Regions from separate parts of the Homo sapiens genome. Here region 1 is linked to region 2. Evidence: promoter capture Hi-C in human tissues and cell types (Jung and others, 2019). All regions are on one chromosome and are shown on one strand. The core of a region is centred on a gene start or on the middle of the fragment in contact, and the rest is flanking DNA. Distances in the headings are between cores, read along the strand shown.

Evidence for each region. The method cuts DNA at HindIII sites, captures the fragments that hold promoters and counts their contacts. A contact is called where the count stands out against the background at its distance.
Region 1: a fragment that was not itself captured here is called in contact with the fragment with the promoter of ILKAP in region 2 in 1 of the 25 tissues and cell types used here (small bowel).

Annotation. Positions count from the first base shown.
Region 1 is chr2:237,898,716-237,905,742 of GRCh38, reverse strand. The region is part of intron 2 of RAMP1 (receptor activity modifying protein 1); the gene reads right to left. Among named protein-coding and RNA genes, the nearest start is that of RAMP1, 43 kb to the right of the region's middle. RefSeq lists enhancers at 6,581-6,690, 6,771-6,820, 6,788-7,027. The HindIII fragment of the contact is 6,975 bases long and covers 1,266-7,027 here.
Region 2 is chr2:238,198,267-238,205,632 of GRCh38, reverse strand. It overlaps ILKAP (ILK associated serine/threonine phosphatase), which reads left to right and starts at 1,938. Exons shown (of 12, transcript NM_030768.3): 1 at 1,938-2,134. The coding sequence starts at 2,080. RefSeq lists enhancers at 1,057-1,929, 2,892-2,951 and silencers at 1,742-2,311, 2,432-2,521. The HindIII fragment of the contact is 8,585 bases long and covers 1-7,366 here.

The DNA of each region.
Region 1 (7,027 bases), core at 3,504-6,003, 300 kb after region 2:
CACTGCATCTGACCAATGAAGCCTGCTTTGAATGATGATCCTCTCCCATATCTCAGACCCACCAAACCCGCAGGCAGTTTAGTTTTTGGTGTTCTGCAGATCCAGTGACACATGATCCTGAACACTGACCCCTGTCCTCTGAGGAGCGGAGCTGTGGCATTTTTAGGAGGAGCTATTGCCATCTCTGCACTGGCCAAACAGAACAGGAAGGAGCGGATGCAGGAAGCCACGCCACCACAGAACCCACGCCGAGGCCACGCTGAGGCAGATAGGGCCGTGTGTGGGTGGGCTATTCTGGGATCAGGCACTCTCTCCTTGATATGTCAGCCTTCTGGATTGCAGTGCCACCCACGTCTAAAAATATCTCTAATGTGCAGTCGGCTGCCCACTTCATCCTGTTTATTTATACAGAAGTGACAGCTGAAACTTTCAATAAATGTTGTGAGCTCCGTCAGTGAGGATGTGATAAAAGAATTCCCCTCAGAGTACAGACATTCTTCTGCCCAAAAGAACACAGAACGGACTGAAGGACCCAAAATAGTCATGAAAAATACACCCTGGCTTTAACTCCCTAAAGTTTCAGTTCTCGTGTCACTGAGTAATTATCCTTTTTTGGCTAGGACCTTCTATTCTGGGGCTCGAAGCAAACTTTGCTTGGAATGTTCCTGAATCCTATGGTGGGAGTTTCCAGCATATCTGGGTCCCAAGTCAAGGCCCGACACCACTGTTCATGGTTACTTGCTGGTAAGAAAGTGTGATCACTGATGCTCACAGGTGAGTCATCTACTCTGGGGACACCCTGGGTTGCAGTTGTCCCCCAGCTACCCCCGGCTGGCCCTAATATGAAATATCTGAGCCTGGGCCCTGTCACCCATAGACCTGGGTTCAAATCCCAGCTCCACCTCTTACCCAGAGTGATCCTGGAGACCTCATTCGCTTGTTCAAGTCTTAGTCTCCTATTAAGATAAAGATACAGGTCCTCACTTGACTGGCTCATGACGTATACATTTCTTGTCCTTTTTGAGTTTATACTTAAGCAAAAGGTGACCAGGCAATGTGTGTCTAAATTGTCAGAAAATCTGAGGGGAAAGCACTTTTGGCTTTATATTCGCTTTTTAAAATTTATTTATTATTTTAGACAGCGTTTTGCTCTGTTGCTCGGGCTGGAGTGCAGTGGCACGATCTTGGCTCACTGCAACCTCTGCCTCCCGGGCTCAGGTGATCCTCTTGCCTCACCCTCCAGAATAGCTGGGATTACAGGCGTGCACCACCACACCTGGCTAACTTTCATTTATTTATTTATTTTGATTTTTATTCTATTTTTGAGACAGAGTCTTGCTCTGTTGCCCAGGATGGAGTCCAGTGGCATGATCTCAGCTCACTGCAAGCCCCACTTCCTGGGTTCATGCCATTCTCCTGCCTCAGCCTCCCGAGTAGCTGGGACTACAGGTGCCCGCCACCACGCCCTGGCTATTTTTTTTTTTTGTATTTTTAGTAGAGACGGGGTTTCACCGTGTTAGCCAGGATGGTCTTGATCTCCCGACCTCGTGATCCGCCCGCCTCAGACTCCCAAAGTGCTGGGATTACAGGCGTGAGCCACTGAGCCCGGCCCAATATTTCTTCTAGAAATACAAATGACTACTAAGCATGTGAAATGAAAGACCAAACATCCAGATGGCACTCCTCTTAAAAAGGAGAATGCTAGGCTGGGCGTGGTGGCTCACACGTGTAAACCCAACGCTGGGGGAGGCCTAGGCCGGAGGATTGCTTGAGCCTAGGAGTTTGAGAGCAGCCTGGGAAACATAGTGAGACCTTGTCTCTACAAAAAAATACAAAATGGCTAACACAGTGAAACCCCAACTCTACCAAAAATACAAAAAATTAGCCGGGCGTGGTGGCGGGTGCCTGTAGTCCCAGCTACTCGGGAGGCTAAGGCAGGAGAATGGCGTGGACCTGGGAGGTGGAGGTTGCAGCGAGCGGAGATCGCACCACTGCACTCCAGCCTGGGTGACAGAGCGAGACTCTGTCTTAAAGAAACAACAACAACAAACATTTGCCAGTGCTGGGATGCACCTGTAGTCCCAGCTAGTTGGGAGGCTTAGGTCAGAGGATCACATGAGCCCAGGGAGGTGGGAGATTGAGGCTGCAGTGAGCTATGTTCCTGCCACTGCACTCCAGCCTGGGCAACAGAATAAGACCCTGTCTCAAAAAAAAAGAAAATAATGCTGAATGCTAGTGAAGGTGTAGGATACTGAGGCAGGCACTCATAGCAATCCTCAGGGAAGATAAACTGGTACAATTTTTCTGAAACACAATTTGGCAATATGTATCAATAATCTCAAACTCACGGATGCCTCTTGACCCCGTAATTGCATTACTGGGAATTATCCTAAATTAATAATGTGAAATATAGATAACAGTGATGTAAGAAGGTGTCCACTGCAGATTTATAATTATGAAAAACAGCAAACAACAGGACAGCGGTCACAGAAATTGTTTATGAGTGGCTCCATTATGTAGCTGTTAAAATTATATTTAGGAAGAAAATTTTAAGATGTGGAAAAACATTTATGTTCTAAAGCTGGGCAGAAGAACAGCTCTCATGCCTGTGATCCTAGCACTTTGGGAGGCTGAGGCAGGAGGATCGCTTGAGGCCAGGAGTTCAAGACCAGCCTGGGCAACCTAGTGAGACCCAGTCTCTCTGCTAAATAAATAAATAAAGTTTTGAAAAGCAGCAGCAGGTTAGACCAGGTGCCATAAACAGCCTGGATTGGGGTAAAATGGTCCACATGGGAGGGGGACACAGCAGAATGTCACAGGAGTGATCCCCACCAGAATGGTAATAACACGAAGGACTTTTCTCTCAACTTTTTTGGGTTTTCTACCTTGAGCATACATACTTTTTATAATTATATTTAACAGCTCATTTTAGCAGGAAGGCTCACAGGAAACTAGATGTTGGCGTCACTGCATCTGCAGCCACCGTGCCTGGTGTCTGGGGCAGCCTGGGTCTTCCCACCAGAGGGCTCTGATGTGCAGGCAGGGCTGGGACCCTCTGGTGACAGCGGCTCATGGGGGAGGCGTGCAGGGCAGACAGGGAGCGGGGACGGGGCGTTGGGCCTCTCCAGTCTCAGTGGCCTCCTGCGTGGAACTGGGGGCCCCGCGGGACCCAACTCTGAGGCAGGAAGGGGCTCTGTGGAAGGGTGAGTGGGGGTGCGGGGTGGGCCCTGGGGGCAGGACCCCACTTTCCTCCTCGCTGTGTTCCCCCCACCCCCTCTGCGGAGACCTCTGCGTCCTCCTGGTCCTCCTGTTCCCTCCTCCATCTCCCTGTCCTTCTGGCCCCTCCTCTTCCTCCTGATCCCTCTCTCCTCCTGGCCTCTCCCTCCTCCTCCCAGCCCCTCCTCCACCCCCTGATCCCTCCCTCCTCCTCCCAGCCCCTCCTCCTCCTCCCGATCCCTCCTTACCCCTCCCTCTTCCACCTCGCCCTTGCTCCAGGCCCCCACCTCATCCTCACTCCAGCCTTGCTCCGGGTGGCAGTGGGGCATCCTCACTCACTGAAGACCCCGGGCCCTTACCAGCCCCCGGAGGAGAGGCATCCCCCGCGAAGTGCTCCTTCTCTCTCGGCCTTGGGCTGCACCTGAGAGTTCCCCATTCTCCCTCCTCCACCTGAAGCCTGGGCTGTTCACTTCTGGCTGTGAACACATGTGACTCAGGGCCCCCATGCCATGCCTATCCCCTGAGTTATCATGGCTCCCCTTTCCCTCAAGGGTGCCCTCCCCTCCTGAGGCCCCATCACTGTGCCCAGGATGGGGCAGAAGTGACTCGTCCTGGTGGATGGGTTATTACAACTTACATACCAGCTTCCACTTTTCTGTAGTGAGTATGTGGGGGCTTGGCATCTATCTACCCCTTCTTCTGCCTCCCCCAGTTTAGTCAGGGGCAGCCATCAAACCCCTCCACCGCCCTCCACTCTGCATGCTGGGCTTAGCTACCACGGGCTCTCCAGGCCACATCCCACACCCTGGCCGCTGCCCAAGCCCACCGTCCACACCTTCCCACCCCTGCTTCACGCCTTCAGTGCTCACCATTACACCTGTCCCAGATTCAGAAGCTTCTGTGTGGGTCACTCAACTGGGTCCCCTCCCTCCTGCTGGCCACATTCTAGCCACAGTGGCCAGTGTTCTGCCTCAGGACCTTTGCACATGCTGTTCCTTTTAACTGGAAAGCTCTTAGCCTCATCTTCACAAGGCCACCCTATGCTCGCCCTTCGCTTAAATGTCACGTCCTCAAAGAGGCCTTTTCTGGATGCTTCAATCATATTTGGCTTCCCCAGCAAAGTGGGGTTTTCCTTCATAGATGGGTGTTACTTTGTGGCTGTCCATGAACTCATGTGATTATTCACCCACTGTTGGTCTCAACAACCAGACTGCAGACACCACCGGGGCAGGGAGGGTAAGAGCAAAAATCCCCCTTACTCTGGTCACAGTGGCCACCTCCAAGGCAAAGTGAAACAAAGCCTGAAGGAAGACAGCGAGAGAGGGATGTACCCAGGAGACGCAGACAGAAGGTGAGCAGGGGTGTGGGCTTCCCAGCAGACCTGGCCCAGGCCGGTGAGAAGGGCCATCAGTGGGGCTGATGGGGATGCTCCACCCAGGACAGCTGGCACTGCGCCACAGCGTACAGACAGCCCGCAGCTGCCAGGAACGCAAGACACGTGGGAGACTTAAACACACCTCCCAAGGCTAGGTAGATAAACAGTAGCATAAAGTGATTATGAAAAATAATGTTAATAAACCGATGCAGTGACTGTCTGATAAAGGTTCTATTCTACAGAGACTCAGCCGGCTTTTCAAAGGCCCCTGGGTCTGTGTTAGGCGGCAAAAAGAGACTCATCAAATCCCCAGAGTATAAATCATAAGTCAATATTCTCAGGCTACAATACTGAAAACTAAAAATTAGTTTTAAAAAAAGGATAAATTTAAAAAAATGGAATTCCTAGAAATGAAAGATCATTTATATAATTTCGAAGTCACAGGAGAATTTAAAAATTCAATTACAAAATATTAAGAGAACAAGATCGGCAATACTATATGTACAAATGAATGGAATGGGGCAAAAGTGAATTCTGAGAAAAATTAATAGTTATAAATTATTTTATTAAACAAAAATAAATGAAAATAAACAAAATAAGTATCCAAAGCAAGATATTTTTTAAAAAGAACAAAATAAATCTCTCCAAATGGCACATAATTTGTCCATCAATAATTATTAGAAGCAATATAGGCCAGGTGCGGTGGCTCACGCCTGTAATACCACCACTTTGGGAGGCCGAGGTGGGCAGATCACTTGAGCTCAGGAGTTCAAGACCAGCCGGGGCAGCATGGCGAAACCCCATCTCTGCTGAAAATATCAAAATTAGCCAGGCATGGTGGCACACACCTGTAGTCCCAGTTAACTTGAGTGGCTGAGGCACGAGAATGCCGTGAACCCAGGAGGCAGAGGTTGCAGTGAGTCGAGATCGTGCCACTGCACTCCAGCCTGGGCGACAGAGCCAGACACTGTCCTAAACAAACAAACAAATAAACAAAAAACAAAAAACAGAAAAGAAAAAGAAGAAGTATAAGAGATTAATACGTAAAAAAGGTTTGTTAAAAATTGGAAAATCCTCAGTGAATTGGGATACTTTTTGGTTAAATTATAAACTATCAAATATCGACTTAAAAAGGAGGAATTCCAAGAAGAAAAATGGCAAATGTTATTAAAGAATTGCTGTTTCAAAAGGCACTAGATCCCAGGCAGTTCTTTCAAATTCTTTTTTTTTCTTTTTAATTGAGACAGGTTCTCACTATGTTGCTCAGGCTGGTCTCAAACTCCTGGGCTCAAGCGATCCTCCCACCTCGGCCTTCCAAAGTGCTGGGATTACAGGTGTGGGAGGCGTGAGCCACTGCAAATTCTTAAAGTGAAAGAAAAAGATGTGCAGCTTCCCAGTTCATTTAAAAAAGTTAACAAACCCTGATCCCAAGCCTCTTGAGATGGCATGACATGCGTCTCAACGCATGCGCACACGGACGGAACAGATGCCCTTCGCTTCCACCTATAAATAGACACTCAAGTCCCCTACCCAATGCTAACAAACTTCATCTAGCCACATAGCATATTTTATTTAAAGGAGGGCTAATTTCAGGAATGCTTTAAACCTGTTACTACAAAATCACACTTTAATACACCATGGGAAAAAAATGTACCGTCATTTTAATACGCATTGAGAAGGCATTTGAGAAAACTCAATATTCTTTTCTGATTTTAAAAAAGCCACAACCTTGAAAACACAGAAAGAAGCTATTTTCTTCATGTGATAAAAATCTCTCTCTCGGCCAGGTGCAGTGGCTCACGCCTGTAATCTCAGCACTTTGGGAGGCCGAGGCGGGCGGGTCACCTGAGGTCAGGAGTTCGCGACCAGCCTGGGCAACACGGTGAAACCCCATCTCTACTAAAATACAAAAAATTAGCTGGGTGTGGCAGCGTGTGCCTGTAGTCCCAGCTACTCAGGAGGCTGAGGCAGGAGAATTGCTTGAACCCGGGAGGCGGAGGTTGCAGCGAGCGGAGATCATGCCACTGCACTCCAGCATGGGTGACAGAGTGTGACCCAGTCTCAAAGAAAAAAAAAAAATCACTGTCTCAAACCAATAGCATGCACCCCATTTAGGACTGGAACACAGTGGCATTTTCGTGGCAGCCAGCAACAGGCTTATTTCGCATTTAGGCAGCCAGGGCTGGCTTCTCCCTTGTGGTTTCTGCCTTTGGTGTCAGGGCTCACACCCAGGATTCTGTGAATAGCGGGACCTTTCCAAAGCAGGGAGGGGCTGGCCACTTACTGCGCCACTTCCTCTGTTGACAGAGAGCCACGCTGTGGCCTGGCCTGGCGTGCGTCAGGTGTGGAGCAAGCACAGGGCCAGCTTGTCTTTAAGAGGCCTCAGCCCGGGCCCTGGGGATGTGAAAGCCCACGCAGTGTAGCTTCCCACCTACG
Region 2 (7,366 bases), core at 689-3,188:
CGGGGTTTCACCATGTTAGCCAGGATGGTCTCGATCTCCTGACCTCGTGACCCACCCGCCTTGGCCTCCCAAAGTGCTGGGATTACACGCGTGAGCCACCGCGCCTGGCCACCTTTTTCAAAGATTTTTAACCAGCAGGATCATGGCCATCTCACAGACAATTACCCAAAAACATCTACAGACAGCGTTACTCCTACAATCAATCTGAAACCAAAGAACTCTCTGCTCACTCCCCCAGCAGGAAGTAGCCAGAAAAAATGCGCTGCCCCTTGTCCTTTTCATAACTATAGAGACTGGATTGATAGAGCAGGAGCATTGCCATCTTGGACAAACACCACCTTTCTAAGTTCCCCTTGATTAAAAAACCACCTAAATCCTACCCCAAAACATCAGCCTAACGGCTAATGTCAGCATAACCAGAAATATTCCAACCCTAAGATAAACCTCTCTTCAACCAGAAACATGCTAACCCTGAAATAACCTCTCCTCCAATAGCCTCCCCTCCGACCAGAGACATTCCAACCCTGCAATAAACGTTCCCCCACTTCCAAAACCCTTAAATATCCTTAGTCTGTAAGAGAGAATGCTTAGTCTGTAAGAGAGAGCGCTCCTGATCGAAATTGGCCAGAATCCCCTCTCAGGTTTATTCTCTGAAATAAACCTTTTAATGTTGAGCCGCTTTTTGTATTTATTTCCTCTTTCTTTAACGGTTACAAGCATTGTTACTTGAGTGTTTCTGCTGTAATGGAGGAGGCAGCATGAATATCTCAAACGGTTGCTAGTGAGAAGCCACGCAGATGAGAGGCATGAAGCCTTGTTGGGCTCCCTCCATGTCCTACAGCCAGAGAGCGTCAGAAATACATCTGCCCCAGAATGAACTGGGCTGAAAACTCTTTGCATGGAGGGAGACCACATAACCTGGGGAACTTGGGTAAACGATGTTGGAACGGAGGTGTAAGATTTGGGTTTGTGTTAGTTGATTTGGGGAAACATTTATGGAAACGGGCCTTTGCTCCGGATTGGATGTCAGGAAGAGGAGGATTCCATGATTGGATATCTTGATGAAGCTTATCTAGACGGCAGGAGGACGAGACAAAGGCTAAACATGTAATGGTAAAGAAGCAGCAATCACTCTTATTGGCCAAGACGAGGGGAATGTGGTCACTTTTGTGGCTTGGACAGTGTTCCTGTTTTGTCTGTGTTCACACTTGATTACACAGTGGTCTGTTTTTTTCTCTTGATCTGTATCACGGCCTGATGTTGGTGTTTTATGAAATTGTTCACATTCAAAGAGAACACCCAGGCCTAGCTGTTTGTGCCAGACCAACCCCAAGTCCTGGCTGCAGAACCAGGCCAGCTCCCCGATGTCAGTGGCCGCCTTTCTCTTTACAGGCATGGAGGGGGACACCATTAAGGAGGAGCCCCTCTTCTCCGCTCCCCACAGACACCAGTGGGTGCAGACAAGTCAGGGAATGCCTCCTTTCCCTCCGGCATCTTTTGAGGTTTCCGTCCTGACGCCCAGGGCCGCTCCATCCAAGCCTCGGTTTCTCAGTCTCTAAAACAGGCCAGAAACCAGGCACGCCGTGGTGAAAGGACGAGCCGAAGAGATGGCAAGAGCTCCAGAAAGCCTTCCCAGGCATCAGGGGCTGCCCTTGAGCTCAGACGTTTCTCTCTGGACAGGGCTTCTTGGACAGGAACTCAACGAAACTTGACAGAAATCGGACACCCCCAGCCAAGGAAAAGCAGGAGGGGCCCGGGGTTCGCCAAGGCGGGAAACACCGCGGGGCCCAGACGGCGCCGTCCGCCCGGCTCGCAGTCGGGGCGCGGGAGGGGCCCACGCGCATGCGCACCGCCCCGCCCCCAGCCGCCCCGCCCAGCCCGCGCGCAGCCCTCTGGGGCGGCCGGGCCACGCCGCGCGCCGATTGGTGGCGTCCGGGACTCTCCCTGCAGGTGACTGACGGCGCCGGCCGCCCCTGCCCGTCGCCCGCCCGCTGCTGCCGCCCGCCCGGGGTGTGGAGCCCGGCCGCTGCTCGCGGGCTGAGTGTCTGTCGCTGCTGCCGCCTCCACCCAGCCTCCGCCATGGACCTCTTCGGGGACCTGCCGGAGCCCGAGCGCTCGCCGCGCCCGGCTGCCGGTAAGCGGCGTTGCCGCCGGGCCGGCCAGGGAAGGGAGAGCAGGCGGGATGGGGGCGGCCTGAGGCCCGGGGCGGCTGAGGCGGCGCCCGCGCTGGGAGGCGGCGGGCGGCGCGGGCTGCACGGGGCCTGCTCCTGCCTGGCCAGGCCCCGTCCGGCCCACTGGCGGCCCTGTCGGAGGCCCGGTCGCTCGCGGAGCTCGGAGAGGCCGCTCCGCCATTTTCGCTACGCAGGAAGGAAAGGGCCGAGCCGTCGTGGCCACGGCCCCTCTGCGTGGCGGTGAAAGGCGCCGGCGCGACCGCGTGGGCCGACCCGAGGGACCGGCTCTGAACGCCCGGCGGCACCGCGGGCCCCCGCGCCCCGATTCCACCCGCGGCCTGGGCTGCCTTGCGCGTCGCCCGCCCGCGGCTTCCGGGCCGCACTTCACCCGCGGGCTGTGGAACGGCCGCGTTCCGGGCCGGTGCAAGTTCAGGGGCTTGGCGTTTTTATTTGCACTGGAGATTGAATTAATCACCATCTTAATCCTTCGTGTTTTTGAAGCCTGGAAGACAGGATGCCTCCTCTGTCATCCTGTGATTTTGTGATAATTAACAGTAGTTTTTTTTTTTTTTTTCTGGTCCACGGGAAGTTCCCCCTCTCCTTGAAGTTAAGGGGTCCGCTCATCTCCTAAGCGCTGGCCCCTGCCAGTGGGAGTCCCTGTGGGCTGTGGTTTGAGCTCAGCATCCTAGCAGCTTGAAACAGGGCCTGTGTTAATCCCTGCGTCCTGTGGGTTACAGTCTCCGGGTTTCATCTGTCAAAACGCGTGAATATTTCATATGCAAGACTTCCAGCTTGATGTTGTAGTTTAGGGCCTTATTACAAAATTTAACTTGGGGGCAGAAAACCTGGAAAACTTAAGACGTTCAGATTTCCAGGCCCACCTCAGCCCCAGTAAATCCGAATCCCTGAGAGTGGGGTTTCCGAATCTGTTACTAAATCCCCAGGCCAACCCAGCGGGGGCTGGAGACCAGTGGTTTGGGAGCTGCTGTTGTAGGGTAGACGGAGGTGAGTAAGGCCCAGCCTTCGCTTTCTAAGAGCTGCTTTCTGAAGGGTACTAATTACGGTAATTAAAACTGGCAAAAGTTAATGACTGTGGGAAATGCTGAGGACTCTTGAGGAGGGATTGTCGGGCACCGAGAGACTGGGGAAGGAGGCAGTGTTTGAATTGAGCTTCCAAGGATGTTCAGGCTTGTGATTTGCAGTAATTCTGGGCGAGAAAACATTTTATTTTATTTTACTTTTTGAGACGGAGTCTCACTCTTGTCGCCCAGGCTGGAGTGCAATGGTGAGATCTGAGCTCACTGCAACCTCCGGGTTCAAACAATTCTCCTGCCTAGGCCTCCCTACTAGCTGAGATTACAGGCGCCGACCACCACACCCGGCTAATTTTTATATTTTTAGTAGAGACGGGGTTTCACCATGTTGGGTAGGGTGGTCTTGAACTCCTGACCTCAGGTGATCCGCCCGCCTCGGCCTCCCAAATTGCTGGGATTACAGGTGTGAGCCACCGTGCCCTGCCCCCACTGACCGTTCTGATGGTACAGAGCATCTCAGTAACTGGTCCTGGAGTCTTTGAACTTGACTCAGCCATTCATTTTCAAAATAACCACGGTTTTAGCTGTGGGTAAAAATTGGATTTGTGTAGCAGTCTTTTTTCTCTTGTCAATGGAGTATAATTTCTATCTGAATATATTTGGGACAGCATTTGGATTCACCAGTGTGCGTGTAAACCTATGAGTCTTAAAATCTCCATTGCTTTTTACCTGCAATTAATTAGGTTCTGCTCAGGAGCAGGCTCCCTTGACTGACAAAAAACCTGGCAACTCAGAATCTCATAGGTTGGCACCTTAGCAGCCTTTTGCCAGATACAGTGGGAAAGGTACATCCTGTTGCCGTTTTTTCCAAACTCAGTTTCCAACCTTGACTGAGCTGAAAGGGTGGCAGAGGGGGTGCATGGTGTTTAAACTGCTGACCACCCTGAGATTGGATTGGTCAGCTGCTCCCCATCTGCCAGGAGGGCACTGACATTGTCAACAGGTCCTGCTTGGCTGAGTGTATTTTTAAAAATAGCTTTAAAACGAAGAAGATCTCAGAATTTGTAGATGATTGGAAGCTGAGAGGGATAAGTACTAAAATGAGTGACAATTGGGATCCATAGTTATCATTGCAGGCTGTTAGCTACAACCAACAAGATGAGATTTGACAGGTTAAAATCGTTTGTACAAGAACAGAATCTGGTTTCACATACTTGTGAAAATACTGTGATTTAAAAAAAAAAAACATACTTTGAATAAATCATATTGATTGCTAAAGTGAATGGAATAATGAGTCTAAACTGTGCATCATGACCCTCACACATGATATGTGGGTACCACAAATCTCTAATGCAGTGAACAATAAAAGACCTCGTTATTTTCCCAGAGCGCAAGAAAAGTTGTTCAGAAAGTGTAACCAGACTACTTGGTTTAGAATCCAGCTCTTCGCTTACTAACTGTGCCTTCTGTGGCTATTCCTACATGTGTAAAAAGGGGTGACACTTGCCACTGTTACTGTACAAATTAGTACAGTATGTATGGTGCTGCACATAGTGTGGGGTAGAATGTATAGTGTTTTATAGATGTTAGCCAGGGTTATTATTTTTGAGACAGCCTCATTGTGTCGCCCAGGCTGGAGTGCAGTGACATAAACACAGCTCACTGCAGTCTCGACCTCCGTGGGCACAGGTGATTCTTCCACCTCAGCCTCCTTGGTAGCTGGGACTACAGGTGCGCACCACCACAGCCAGCTAATTTTTGTATGTTTTGTAGAGACAAGGCTTTGCCATGTTGCCCAGGCTGCTCTCGAACTCCTGGGGCTCAAGTGTTCTGCCCACCTTGGCCCTCCCAGAGTGCTGGGATTACAGTGGTAAGCCACTGTGCCTGGCTGAGCCATTAACAGTTGTTTAAAAGTGGAAAAACGCAGTCTTAAATGAATTATGGGAAAGCACTGAGTGTCCAAAGGGAGAATACTACACTGCTTATATCACATCAAATGTATTAATATTTTGTTTAGATCTTTTTATTTTTGTTTTAAACGTTGCATCTAATGTTCCCACCCCTAAACCTCTTAAATGTTTATAATCTAGAAAAATACATAGAATGCACTAAATATTTCAGGTATTTTGCTAAATTAGTAGTTTTCATCCAAGCCCTTAAAAGTTTTAATTGCTGAATGAATCAAGTTTTTTAAAGGAGAGATGTATATATTTTACCTAAAAAAAAGTGTTTGTTCATATCAGGCAGAAATGGAACTTTCCTATGTCATACCCATAAAAGTGCCGACCTGATGTCTTTAAGATTGGCAGCTTATATTGACAATCCATGTATGTCAGTTGAAGGTGTCATGGTTTAAAATTGCTTCGCCAGTAACTTGATTTCACTTTTATAGGGTGGTTCTTTTACTTATTTGGTTGCTACACTAGTACTTTAAAAATTGATGGTCAGTTGTTGAGGAGGAAATAAAATATTTGATGGCCACACCATCTTAAAAATACTTTAAAAAAATTGGAGGCTGGGCTCGATGGCGCATACTTGTAATCCCAGCGCTTTGGGGGAACAAGGCAGGAGGATGGCTTGAGGCCAGGAATTTGAGAAGAGCCTGGCACAACTTCGTGAGACCCCTGTCTCTACGATTAAAAAAAAAAAAGAAGAATATTTGAACATAAAGGTTAAGGTATTAGAGGAAAACAGATTGTAAAACTACAGGGTTGAACAAGAAAAAAGTCATAAAAAAGTGAATTTGACTATGTAAAAATTTAAAATTTCTGCAGGACAAATGATACTATAAAGGCAAAAGACAAACCGAGAAAATAATTGCAATATACATTACTAAGGGTATAAGAAAGGCTCACAGAATTGATGGGAAAAAATAAAACCCACTAGAAAAATGGTCAAAGGATGTATCCTCCCAGTTCAGAGGTAAGGAATACAAATGGCCCATCAACAGAAAGTTGCTGAGGAACTATTTACCTTTTCACCCATCAGATTAGCAACAGTTGGTAACATTGGTGAATGTGTAGCGAAGTAGACTTTCTCATAAAGTGTTTTGGGAGTGAAAATTACAACTTTTTGGGGAACAGATTTTGGCTTCTATCAGATTTAAACTAATATCCTTTGACGAGCAGTCTAGCAGATTAAGCAGGAATACATGTATCAGATTGTTGATTGTGGCGTCACTTATCATATGAAGAACTGGGAAAAGCTTGAACCCATCAGTAAGGATCTGGTCGAATGAGTGGAGATGCTTCCCATGTGTGGCTGTTGGAGAGGATGAATTAGACTTGGGTGTGTTGGCCTGGAGCATGCCTTGATGGGTTATGTGAACACTATATGTGGAGTATTGTGTAGAGTATGACTCTGTCTTCTACAAATTAAAATGCATGAGTCCATGTGCATGAGCATTAAGGAAAGTGGAAAGGATACACTAAACTCATACTGTGGTTGGGGGGTGTGGCGGAACCTGTCCCCCCTTTTTTCTGATAATACCTCTGTGGTGTTTGGAAAACACCTGGATTTATTTTATAGTTGAAAAAATTGAGGTATAAAAAACAATTTAGCCAAAATATTTTAACATCCTTTTTTAACTTTATTGGATACAGCAACCTTTAACCTGAATATGATCAACCCAAGGGTATTTTTCTCAGCATAGTATATAACTTCCAGTAGACTTAGCTCCAGAATGTAGATAACTGAGGAAAAAAAAAAGTTCTAGATGAGATTAACTATGATTAATGGACATTTTTAGTCTTGTATTCTTATTAGGGTTCTAATATTTTTAAGATTAGGGGAGGGGCCTCTTCCAGATTTTTAGGTCAGGGTCACACTTTGTCCAATGATTGCAGCCCCCAATGCTTTGAATTTCAGTTTATTCAAAATAGAATGTAAGGGCCTGGAGCAGTGGGTCACATCTGTAATCCCAGCACTTTGGGATGCTGAGGCAGGAAGATTGCTTGAGTACAGTAGTTCGTGACCAACCTGGGCAACATAGTGAGACCCCGTCTCTACAAAAAGTTAAAAAATTAGCTGGGCATGGTGGTGTATGCCTGTAGTTTCAGCTACTCGGGAATCTGACGAGGGAGGATTGCTTGAGCCCAGAAGGTTGGGGCTGCAGTGAGCTGTGATCACACCACTGCACTCCAACCTGGCTCACAGAGCGAG